Linked DNA regions of Homo sapiens: region 2 is linked to region 1. The links are contacts of gene promoters, found by promoter capture Hi-C in human tissues and cell types (Jung and others, 2019). All regions are on one chromosome and are shown on one strand. Each heading gives the region's core, a stretch centred on a gene start or on the middle of the fragment in contact. The rest is flanking DNA. Distances are from core to core; before and after follow the strand shown. Region 1 holds the start of KBTBD11 (kelch repeat and BTB domain containing 11). Region 2 overlaps FBXO25 (F-box protein 25).

Region 1 (5,058 bases), core at 1,294-3,793:
TTTTAATGAACCAGTGAGTGTTGTTTCAAAGCCAACACATATATTCTAATTATTTCTTCATGCCAAGAAGCTGGAAGTACTTTATAGCAATTGGCTCCATTCCTGACAGTTATTGGGATTTAACAGCTTTATTGGCTGGGGGAGGAACACATGAACTCCTAAGGGCTAATACAAGCATTTGGGAAATTATCTGTTGTCTGGCGTCAGCACTGGAACAGGGCAGCAGAGCTGGAGAGTAAGAAGCAGAGCTGGAGAGGAAGAAGTGTTTGCTAAGTCACCGCGCAGGAGGAGACAGAATCAGAGGTGACGAATGTAAGTCCACCCATTGGCTTAAGATCCAGTATCCTGAGTGAGTTGCACAGATCCTCTCCTTCAGTCCTCTCAGGTAGGTGCAGTGGTGTCTCCCTGGAGCACAGAGAGGCCAAGTATCTGGCTCCAAATCACAAGACTTGCAGAGGGTAAGGCTGGTGTCTAAGGTCCCATCAGTTGAACTCCAAAGCAGGCTGTCTAGAAATTGGGTTCAGAGACCTCCCAGCCTGGAACCCAGTTTGATGGAGTCCCGCATTCAGGGGCCAGTAAACCACTGTACCCTGGACAACTCCATAAGCTTCGGTTATATTTTTAGGGCGGTTTTGCATGTTGAAATATTTGCATGCTTCGAGTCTACCATGCATGATCAGGCTGTCCCTGACCAGGGGAAAATTTACATAGTAAAATAGTATTACCCTTGAAATAGATTTAAGATAGGTCCTCCTTTTTCTTGACAGTATTACAACCCAGTTCAATTTCAGGAACTCTAGAGGTCCCTGCAGTTATGAAGAACTAATTAAAGGCATGAAATGTTCCTCTGCAAGTTTCATTGACCATATTGGGCCTACAGTCCATTTCCAAATAAATATCTAAGGTAAGAAAAATATGGGACTCCCCACAGACTACTTATCTACCAGATGGTGTGGGGTTTGGATGGATGTTTTCAGTTACTTCAGCAATTTTTTCATTAATTCAGTATTTATTGAGAACCTAATGTATGCCAAGCTTGTAAAATGCAGTGGGGGGTATGACCTATTCCCAGGTCTCTGGACTCTGGCAGAATGGTAGAGAAGATGCTGTCGGGCTTGCATGTTCAGAACACCGTGTCTTAGGTGACCTCCCGGGCCTTTGGAGGCCCAACCCCAGGGTGGCGGGATAGCCAGGTGAGGCTTTGTTTGGCCTGTTCACGTTTCTCTGGAAAAGAATGGGGGTAGTTAGGCCAGGCGCGGTGGCTCATGCCTGTAATCCCAGCACTTTGGGAGGCCAAGACAGGTGGATCACTTGAGGTCAGGAGATCGAGACCAGCCTGGCCAATGTACAGTGAAACCCTGTCTCTACTAAAAATACAAAATTTAGCTGGGTGTGGTGGTGCATGCCTGTAGTCACAGCTACTTGGGAGGCTGAGGCAGGAGAATTGCTTGAACCCAGGACGCAGAGATCGCAGTGAGCCGAGATTGCACCACTGCATTCCAGCCTGGGCGACAGAGTGAGACTCCATCTCTAAAAAAAAACAAAAGAGAAAAAGAAGTATTATTCTGCAGCCGAAAGGAAGTAGAGATGCACTAAGAAGATCACAGTAGAGTTTGGAACATTTTTGGAGTAAACTGAACAAAATAAAAACGGAGCAGCATGGGAATTATTTTAGCTTCCACCAAAAGGGTCTGTTTCTGCTATAGTTAACGGAAGTTTTCAATTTTCAAAAAATCCCAGTAGCTCGCTGAGTTTCAGCCTCCTGTAATTCAAGTACTGACAGCAGGTACTACTCTTCTTGGCAACAGAGTGAAAAAGGTTTTAAAGATGTTCCCGGGGCGTTAGCTTTGGTGCTGGAGTTGTAACGGCTCATTATGTGTATACAGCATGGAACTGGCAAAGACTGTCACAAGCAAAAAGAACACAAAAAGAGAAAGTAAAGGCTCTGGCTCTCGGTACTTATGGAAATCTCATCGTCATTAATTTGCACAAAGCCATTAAAAATAGCATTTACCAGCAGGGGTCCAGCGTTAATTAGAACCCAGCCTGGGAGCAGCTGGAACTCTCGGCGCTCCTGGCTCAGTCCTCGCCGCCCTGAACCCGTCTGCACCGCAGGGCCCGAGTGGGAGGCAGAGGCCACATTTCTGGATATGAGCAAAAGCTCCGACATTTCGTCCACTCTCGTGTTGTGAACTTTAAAAAATTCTGGAATCTGTTGAGAATTTGGCAATAAGTTTTTAACCACTAAATATGTCAACAACGCATCGCCTCTACTTTTACCAAAAAATAGGCGCACGAAACTCCGCTGTTTGCGCCCGCGGACACCTGTCCCCGCCTCCTCGCAGGAAGCGGCCCCCGCGCGTGGGCGCGGGCTCGGGCTCGGGCTCGAGTGGCGACGTGGGCCGCGGTCCTGGAGGGGGAGAAGCGCCCGGCGGGCAGGCGCGGGGCAGGGAAGCCCCGGGGAACCCACAGCCCCTCCGCAGACCCAGCCAGGGGGCGCGCGCCCGAAAACGCCCCGTGTGCACGCGCCCGCCCCCCTCCCCGCGCCCCGCGCGCGCCCCTCGCAGCCTGGAGCCGGAGCGCTGGCTCCGCGCGGCCTGGAGAGGCGGAGAGGCCTGTCCACCGCCCCCTCTGCCGCCCACGCCCCGCTGCGGGTCGGAGGAGCAGCTCCCGCTCGCAGGTGCTCGGAGAGGCCGGGCCGCGGCTCCCACAGGTGCCGGGAAGCGGCCGCGCGCATGCGCCGGAGCCCACCCGCCTGGCTGCGCGTCCCGGGCCCGGCGGCTGAAGAGGAGCCGCGGCGAGGTAGGGCGGACCCCGGGGAGGCAGCGGCGGGGCCTGGCGGGCGGAGCGGGAAGCAGCCCGAGGCGCGGGTCGGAGGGGGCGGCGGGTGGGAGGTGGTCGGCGAGAGCGGCAGTAGGCGGGAGGGGAGAAAAGGGGAGGCCGGCAGGGGAGAGGCGGGGAGGGGAGGCCGGCAGGGGAGGGAGGGGAGCGGAGCGGAGGGGAGGGGAGGGGGGACCGGGAGAGGAGGGGGCAGCGCTGCCCGCGGCGGGGTGGGCGGCGGTGGGTGGTCTCCGCTCCGCCTCCGGGAGGCCGCGTGGGGGGCGTGGGGGCCTCCTCGCGGGGTCTCCACAGGCCCTCCCCCGGGACGCGGCAACCCCGGCCGGAAGACAATGAGCCGCCCGCGCCGCGCCCGCAGTCACCGCCCCCGCCGAGGGTCCCGCCGCCCCAGCCGGCACGGAAGCAGGAGCAGAAGCCGAAGCCAAGCGCGCGGGGCCAGGGCGGGGGCTCCTCCCGGGGTTGCTCCGCTTGGCTCTCGGCGGTCGCGGGGATCGGCTGTCCGGAGCGAACGGGGGTCTCTCCTGGACTCGGGGCCCTGGGGAGGGGAGCGCGGCCCTTGGTCCTCCGCCGCTGCGCCCGGGGTGCGGGGGTGTCCTGGCTGCTGACCCCCGCGAGCCCCGAGCACCGCGACCCACCCGCCCCACCGCGCCGCGGCTCCCGAGTCCTGCCGGGCGCCCCTTGCAGCCCCCGCCCCATGTGCTGGGGAGACCCCCGGGCGGTCTGGGCGGGATTCCGCAGGGGTCCCTCCTCTCAGGCGGGGCTCATTCTGGAGCATGAAAAGAGGGTGAACCAAAGTCCCTCCACCTCTTTAGAGTCCTACAAAACCACGTTTCCCCCTCCACCCACTCCAGTGTCTATTCTAAGGAAAAGAAAAGGAACAAATCAGTGCAGCGAGCTTTATTCTACTCAGCCCACGAAAGGCGCCGCCGTCAGATTTTAAAGTTCCAGCCATCCCCTCAGGCCCTGAGTGAGAAGTTCGCCCGATTCCCCGCGGTTCCCGCCTCCATTTCCCACTAAGGAGCAGTTACTCAGGCTCCAATTAGGACCCCTTAATGGATGTCAATGGAACCCTTCAGCCTTTTATCCTGAGCTAATAGTGTGCTATTATTAGAATAATCCTCCCCATTCCTGACATCACGGAAGGGAGCGTTCCATTGCCTTCAGATTTGCTCCAGCAACAACCTCGTGTGTGCAGATTTATGGTAACTGGCATTGCAATGCTCCCATCAGGGCATAACTAAGTAAAAATTGTAATGAGGTAAAGCCTTTGAACTTTCCATGTCAGTTGCACAGGCATTGCTGGCCATAGCATTGGACAGCACATAATAAAATCAGTTAAAAGATGTTGCTTACATTATAGTGATGTGTAGCACAGCCACGTTCGGATCAATTACAGACCGCCAAGTTGACGGTGGTCCTGTAAGATTATAAAACTGTTTTCCCTGTGTCTTTTTCATGCTTAGAAATGTGTAGATACACAAACACCATTGTGTTACAATTGCCTGCGGTATTGTGCACGCTGCACAGGTGTGCAGTCTGGAGCAGGAGTCTGTGCAGTGGAGCACAGGTGTGTAGCAGGCTGCACCGCCTAGGTGTGTAGGTGCCCTGTGTGATGTTTGCACAGTGATGAAGTTATCTAACTATCATTTCTCAGAACCTGTCTGCATCTGAACCATTCGTGACTGTATTTAAGCCAGCATTGGGCTTGGGAGGAGGGGAGAAAGCTTAAATGTTGTGGCTCTGAGACTAAAGAAATTCCCAGGGAGCAGGACTCTGTGTTGACTGATGTCTGGGCCTAACTTGAACCTCAGAGCACCTTGCTCTGGGTGGATGGAAGAATCCGGAAAGGTGGTTTGGAGCTTATCGCATCATTTGTAAACTCCAATACAAACCCGCTTCAATGGGGTTTCCATATGTTCCGGTACAGGTAGCAACCTTGGCAGTGGGAGCCCAGCAGGTCCCGTCTTTGTCCCTGTGCTGATACAGAGAGACTCTCCGTGCTGTGGACGCCTCCATCTGGGCACATGTTTCAGTTGTTTTCTAAATACCAAGAGCACAGATTGCTCAGTAATAATAGCTCTCCTGCAAATCTGGAATCACTTAGGCAGCTGCAGTGCCTCTAAGCCTCCTTGCATCCAAGGCTGTGATCAAGGAGGACTGGTGTCTGAGTGGGCTTGAGAAGGGCCCGGAGAACAGCGGGTTTCCTGATCACAAATCAGC
Region 2 (5,058 bases), core at 1,229-3,728, 1.6 Mb before region 1:
GTGTTGAAAATAAGCCTTTGGGCATGGACTATTTTTTTATTTCCATGGCTGCATTTCACTCCTTTCAACCCTTAAAAAATCAAACTTATCAGCTGAGAAATTCAGACCAAACTATTCATTTTTCACTGAGTTGCCAAAATGAATTATCTGTAGAGTTTAGGTAGTTGTAAAAGAATTGGTTATATTAATGGAAACAGTAGGCAGGCTCTTTATGTAAATGTTATAAAGATTGTGAAACTAGAAGATAAGTGTATTAAATGATGAGTGGGCATAGTGTCTAAATAGGTAAGTACAATATTTGTGTGTCATCAAGTTTTAAAATATTTTTTCAGCTGAGGATACCGGGATGTACATAGGACAGTCATCCAGATAAGGTTCTGTTGGCAAGATATTTGTTGCCTAGTTGTTTTTTTCTGTCTCCATGTTTTTCATTTGATCTATCCTACAAGCCCTAGAAAATTATTATTCTCAAAACAACACTGCTCACGCTGATCTGTTGCTGAAAAACGTTTAATTACTGACAGAATAAAGTCTAAACACCTTTGATATTCTTCTATGACCTGGCTTCTAGTCGCTTATGTACCAGTCCTCTGATAAACTTTCTCCATTTTATCCCATCTTTTCTGCTTATTTTTCTCAAACTGTGGCACACATTTTGCCCTTTATACTTATTCACCCACCATTCCCATGATTGATATTTTTTGCCTTGCCTCTCCATTCATTTAAGATCTAACCATGCTTCAGGGCGAAGATCGAGTCCTAGTTTCTAGTCAGAGCTTTCCCAGCTGATTTGCTTTCTGCTCAAATTAACTTTATTCTCTCTTTACCACAAGTTACAAGATTGTGGACATATCTGTATGTATGTATACATGCACACTCACATATCTACATGTAAACACACTTTATTATATTACACTTGTATGGAATTTGTGTGTGTTTTGCTATTGTTCTTTTTTAGTTCCTTAGCTAAATTGCACACTTTTGAGGGCAGGAACATCTAGCATAATAACATGTAGTTGGTGCTCAAATGTTTGTCGTTGAAGTAATCCTGTATTTGGTCTGTTAGCAATATTTTTCAGGATTATCCACTTGATTTTTTTTTTTAATATAGATTTCTGAATCCACAGTTTCAAGTTGATATTGAGAGATAATTTGATAATTATCAGAGATGTTCCTAGCAGCCATTTTCTGTTGAATGTGTTTTATGAGACTCAAGGTGCCACTTCAGTCATCTGCTACTTCATGGTCTTTGCTGCCTTTGGTGGGAATGTTCTTGAAAATCATAAAATCAGCTGTATGCTATTAGAGACAGTTTTAGATAACTTTAGGTCGACTGAACATGGGCATTGAGTTTTGCATTTTAGGATGTTCAGTAGTTGTGAAGCAGTTCTGTGAGACAAAGTTTATCAAAATTGTGCTGAAATTTAAGGAATAAAGTATTTTCTAAAGCAAGAATTTAAATTAATCATTATGTGACTGAAAAAGACATGTTCTGACTATAAGTCAGTTTAGCAAGGTTTGAGATTTTCTTCGTGTAAAGAATAATTACTTCATCATTTCCTACACCAGTCAAGAATTAAGCATTTGTGGTTGATCCAGGAATATTGTTGAAGTCTATGTAATTTCCTTCCTTTTTTTTCTGTATCTTCTAGGATTGTATAAGTGCCCATTTAATAGCTTGTTTTTTGTTAATTATACTAAATATAGTTGGGAGGTGGTGTTTGGAGATGTTCATCTCTCATTTATTCTCCATGATGTAAATATTCTACATTTTTCTCTACGATATAAATATTCTATATTATAAAATACTCAAGTCTGTTCGGGACGTGAAATTAAAGTAATACATTACAGAAACCACTTTTGCTTGAGTAATTCAGCTACCTTTCTGTAGCTAAATTCAACGTATATTTTCAACTCTTGCCATGCTTGGCATTTTTATAACATTTTCGTCTCTGTCGACCATTTCTTTCCTGAAATACATTTTTCTCCTGACTTCCTACTTCTCCCTCTACCTTTTTGGCTCTTCCTTTTCAGTTTTTCTTCTTGGCTTATATCTGCCGATCCCTTAAATGGTGATGTTTCTTAGGGTTTTTTTCTTGGCTCTCTTGATTTCCCTCTCGACATATTCTGTGATATTATTTGTGTGGTTTTGATTAGTGTCTGAATGCTCATGATTTTCCTCTTTCTCTCTAGTCTAACTCTCTTCTGAACCATGGATGTATATATTTATTCATTCAGTAAATAAATACTTATAGAGCTCCTGTTGTTTTCCTGGCATTGTTCAAGGTAATGGAATACGGACCTGAACAAGACATTGCATTTTCTTGGAGGAAAACAGATGATAAACACGCTAATCATTTCAGACAGCCCTTACAACTATGAAGGCACTAGATAATGGCTTAGACTGGTAGGGAGGGGGTTGAGGCAGCAGAAGGGCGCTGTTTGGACGGGGAGTCAGGGAGCCTTTCTGGGATGTGACATTTTGAATCAGCAGTGTGAGCATCTGAGGTGGTTTTTAGCCTCATGCACAGTCTCACTGTGTATGAGAATCACCTGTGGACCTTTAAAAACTACTTAAACTTAGCCTTCACCCCCAAATATTCATATTTAACTGAACTAAGATGGGACTAAGCACTTGAATGTTTAAAAAGCTTCCTGTGATGTTAATGCACAGCAGTAGTTGAAAACCACTGATCAAGAGGAGCAGAAATCAAGTCAGTGGGAAGAACTAGCATTTGAAGTCTCACTCTTATCAAATTGTGAGCGTCATGAAGTTAATCACGAAGTTGCATCATTTTTTAAGTCATAATTTTTATACCTGGAGTCTGGTATTTCAAACTGAACAGGCATGTCCTAAGCTGAAATTAATATCCCTTATCTCTCCTTTCCTAATAAAACCCTGCTGTTCCTTCTGTATGTCTTATCCCAGATCCAGGGGCTACAAAACAAAATCTAGATAACTTCCTTGATTTCCTCCTCACGTTTCCAGACAGTCTTCAAGTACTGTTTGACTCTGTTTCCTAAATATTTCTGCAGTCTCTGCTCTTCTGTTTATTTTGCCACTGTATACTCTCACCTTTTAAAGGTCAACATTCAGAAGCCTCCAGTCCCAACTACTTTCCTCCAGGTGACCCTCACCCCATACCTTCTCCCACTGTGATACTGAGTTCTTTGTAAACCACAAATCTGATTGAATCACTTACCTGCTTACTTCCCTTTTTTGGCCCCTCATTGCCCTCAGAATAGCATCCAACTCCTCTAACTTGATCCAGCCTTAAATGACTTCTCCATCCTTAATTCTGGCCCACTCTCTCTCATCTATTCTAAGCTTCAACCAAACTGAACTACTTAGAGTTGCTGAACATGAATACATTTCATTTTCGGTTGCTTCTAACTTCTGGCAAAGAGAGAATACTTGTTTGGAATAATATTCCCTATTCCACACTCCCTGACCCCTGCTTGTTTTTCAGGTATGAGCTAGAATGTCACCTCTGGTAAACCTTTCATGGGATACGCAGTATTAGGCCAGTAAAACCACGTTTACTTACCCCATTTGATCACTTTAGTACACAGTACTGTGTTATTGTCACTGTCACCAATGTCGAGCCAACGTTTAATTAATGAGCAGACATTTAAATGTTAAGAACTTTAATCTTTAAAATTAATAAATGTTCTAAGTGAAAAGAAACTTTTATGAATTATATATACTTTTTAACATAATTTAACTTTTTCATAGGAGAACTATGCCATTTTTGGGTCAGGACTGGAGATCTCCTGGATGGAGTTGGATTAAGACAGAAGATGGCTGGAAGAGATGTGAATCTTGTAGTCAGAAACTTGAAAGAGAGAATAACCGTTGTAACATCAGTCACAGCATGTAAGTTACAGCTGAGCAGAACCATGCCATTTGCCAGTTTAGCATGTATGGCCTTACCTATTTTTCAAGTCCCTGCAAAGCTCCATAACTTTTGAGACTTGCCCACCCAGAAGGCTGGTGTGAAGAGACAAGTTGTTTAGCTAAAAAATGAGGCTAGTAGATTGCCTAATATTCATACACAGATGCTTTCGTCTTTTTTTTTTTAATTTAAAACATTTAATCCTCACAATAATTGGGAGAGAGGTATTATTTTTAATCCCACATTATAGCTGAGGAACCTGAGGAAATTGAAATGCACAGTTTTGGTGGCATATATCAGAAATGTAGTAATAGTGGCTTACACAAGACAAATCAGTTTTTCTCCCTTGAAAGCCTGAGTTGGCATGATGACTTTGCTCGTAACATTGTCAAGGGGCCAAGCACAGTCTGTCTTGTCGCTCTGCCATCCCAAGAGTGCAGCCTTACCTGCATGGTCCAAAACGGTGTATTACCTGCTACATTTGCGCTCAGGCCGAAGGGTAGGTGGGGTTGGTGAGACACGACCTGTGTTTCAGTGGCACAGCCCAAAAGTTACATGCATCACGTTGCCCACACCTTGTTGGCTAGAGCACTAGCGCAAGGGATGCTGGGGGTTGTGGCCCAGCCATGTGTCCAGATAAAAACCAGAGACTGCATGAGCACAGTACCAGGGTAGGTGGCTATTGTATGATGACTACAGTGTCTACCACAGTGGTGTTTGAGAATTTGGAGGGCTAGGAAGGTCTTGAGATAGCCTCCTCTAGAATGTCATGGGTCTAGTCATTTATTGTATATTATTTTACATTTGTGTAATTATCAACTGTGTGCTTGATGGGCCATATGTTTTTCTGACAGAAGTTCAGTAACTTTAGGCCAGAGACTGGTTTTTGCAGTATTTGAAGCAGAAATTAATTTTCCATTTTAGTTACAGTGAGGATAACACATAATATTTTTAAACTTATATTGTAGCAGTTCTCTGCCACGCTAAGATGTATTTAATGTTGATAGCTGTAAAACTTATTTAAAGCTTGTAATTATGCTGTTGGTATTGCATAATGTTATACAGTTATGAATTTTCTAGGTCATTTTTACTATCTTATAATTTTTATGGCAGTTTTTTTAAAATTTAAAGATGGTTGACTATATCTAGAAATGTCAGGTGT

Evidence for each region. Contacts are between HindIII fragments. The study calls those that stand out against the background at their distance.
Region 2: a contact is called between a fragment that was not itself captured here and the fragment with the promoter of KBTBD11 in region 1, in 1 of the 25 tissues and cell types used here (dorsolateral prefrontal cortex).

Annotation. Positions count from the first base shown.
Region 1 is chr8:1,971,134-1,976,191 of GRCh38, forward strand. It overlaps KBTBD11 (kelch repeat and BTB domain containing 11), which reads left to right and starts at 2,544. Exons shown (of 2, transcript NM_014867.3): 1 at 2,544-2,802. It overlaps KBTBD11-AS1 (KBTBD11 antisense RNA 1), which reads right to left and starts at 2,212. Exons shown (of 3, transcript NR_136275.1): 1 at 2,015-2,212; 2 at 1,407-1,530; 3 at 46-1,224. KBTBD11-OT1 (KBTBD11 overlapping transcript 1) reads left to right here and starts at 264. Exons shown (of 3, transcript NR_126346.1): 1 at 264-385; 2 at 792-904; 3 at 4,766-5,058. The HindIII fragment of the contact is 1,977 bases long and covers 822-2,798 here.
Region 2 is chr8:409,337-414,394 of GRCh38, forward strand. It overlaps FBXO25 (F-box protein 25), which reads left to right. Exons shown (of 10, transcript NM_183420.2): 2 at 3,737-3,877. The coding sequence starts at 3,744. Among named protein-coding and RNA genes, the nearest start is that of FBXO25, 4.9 kb to the left of the region's middle. The HindIII fragment of the contact is 3,294 bases long and covers 832-4,125 here.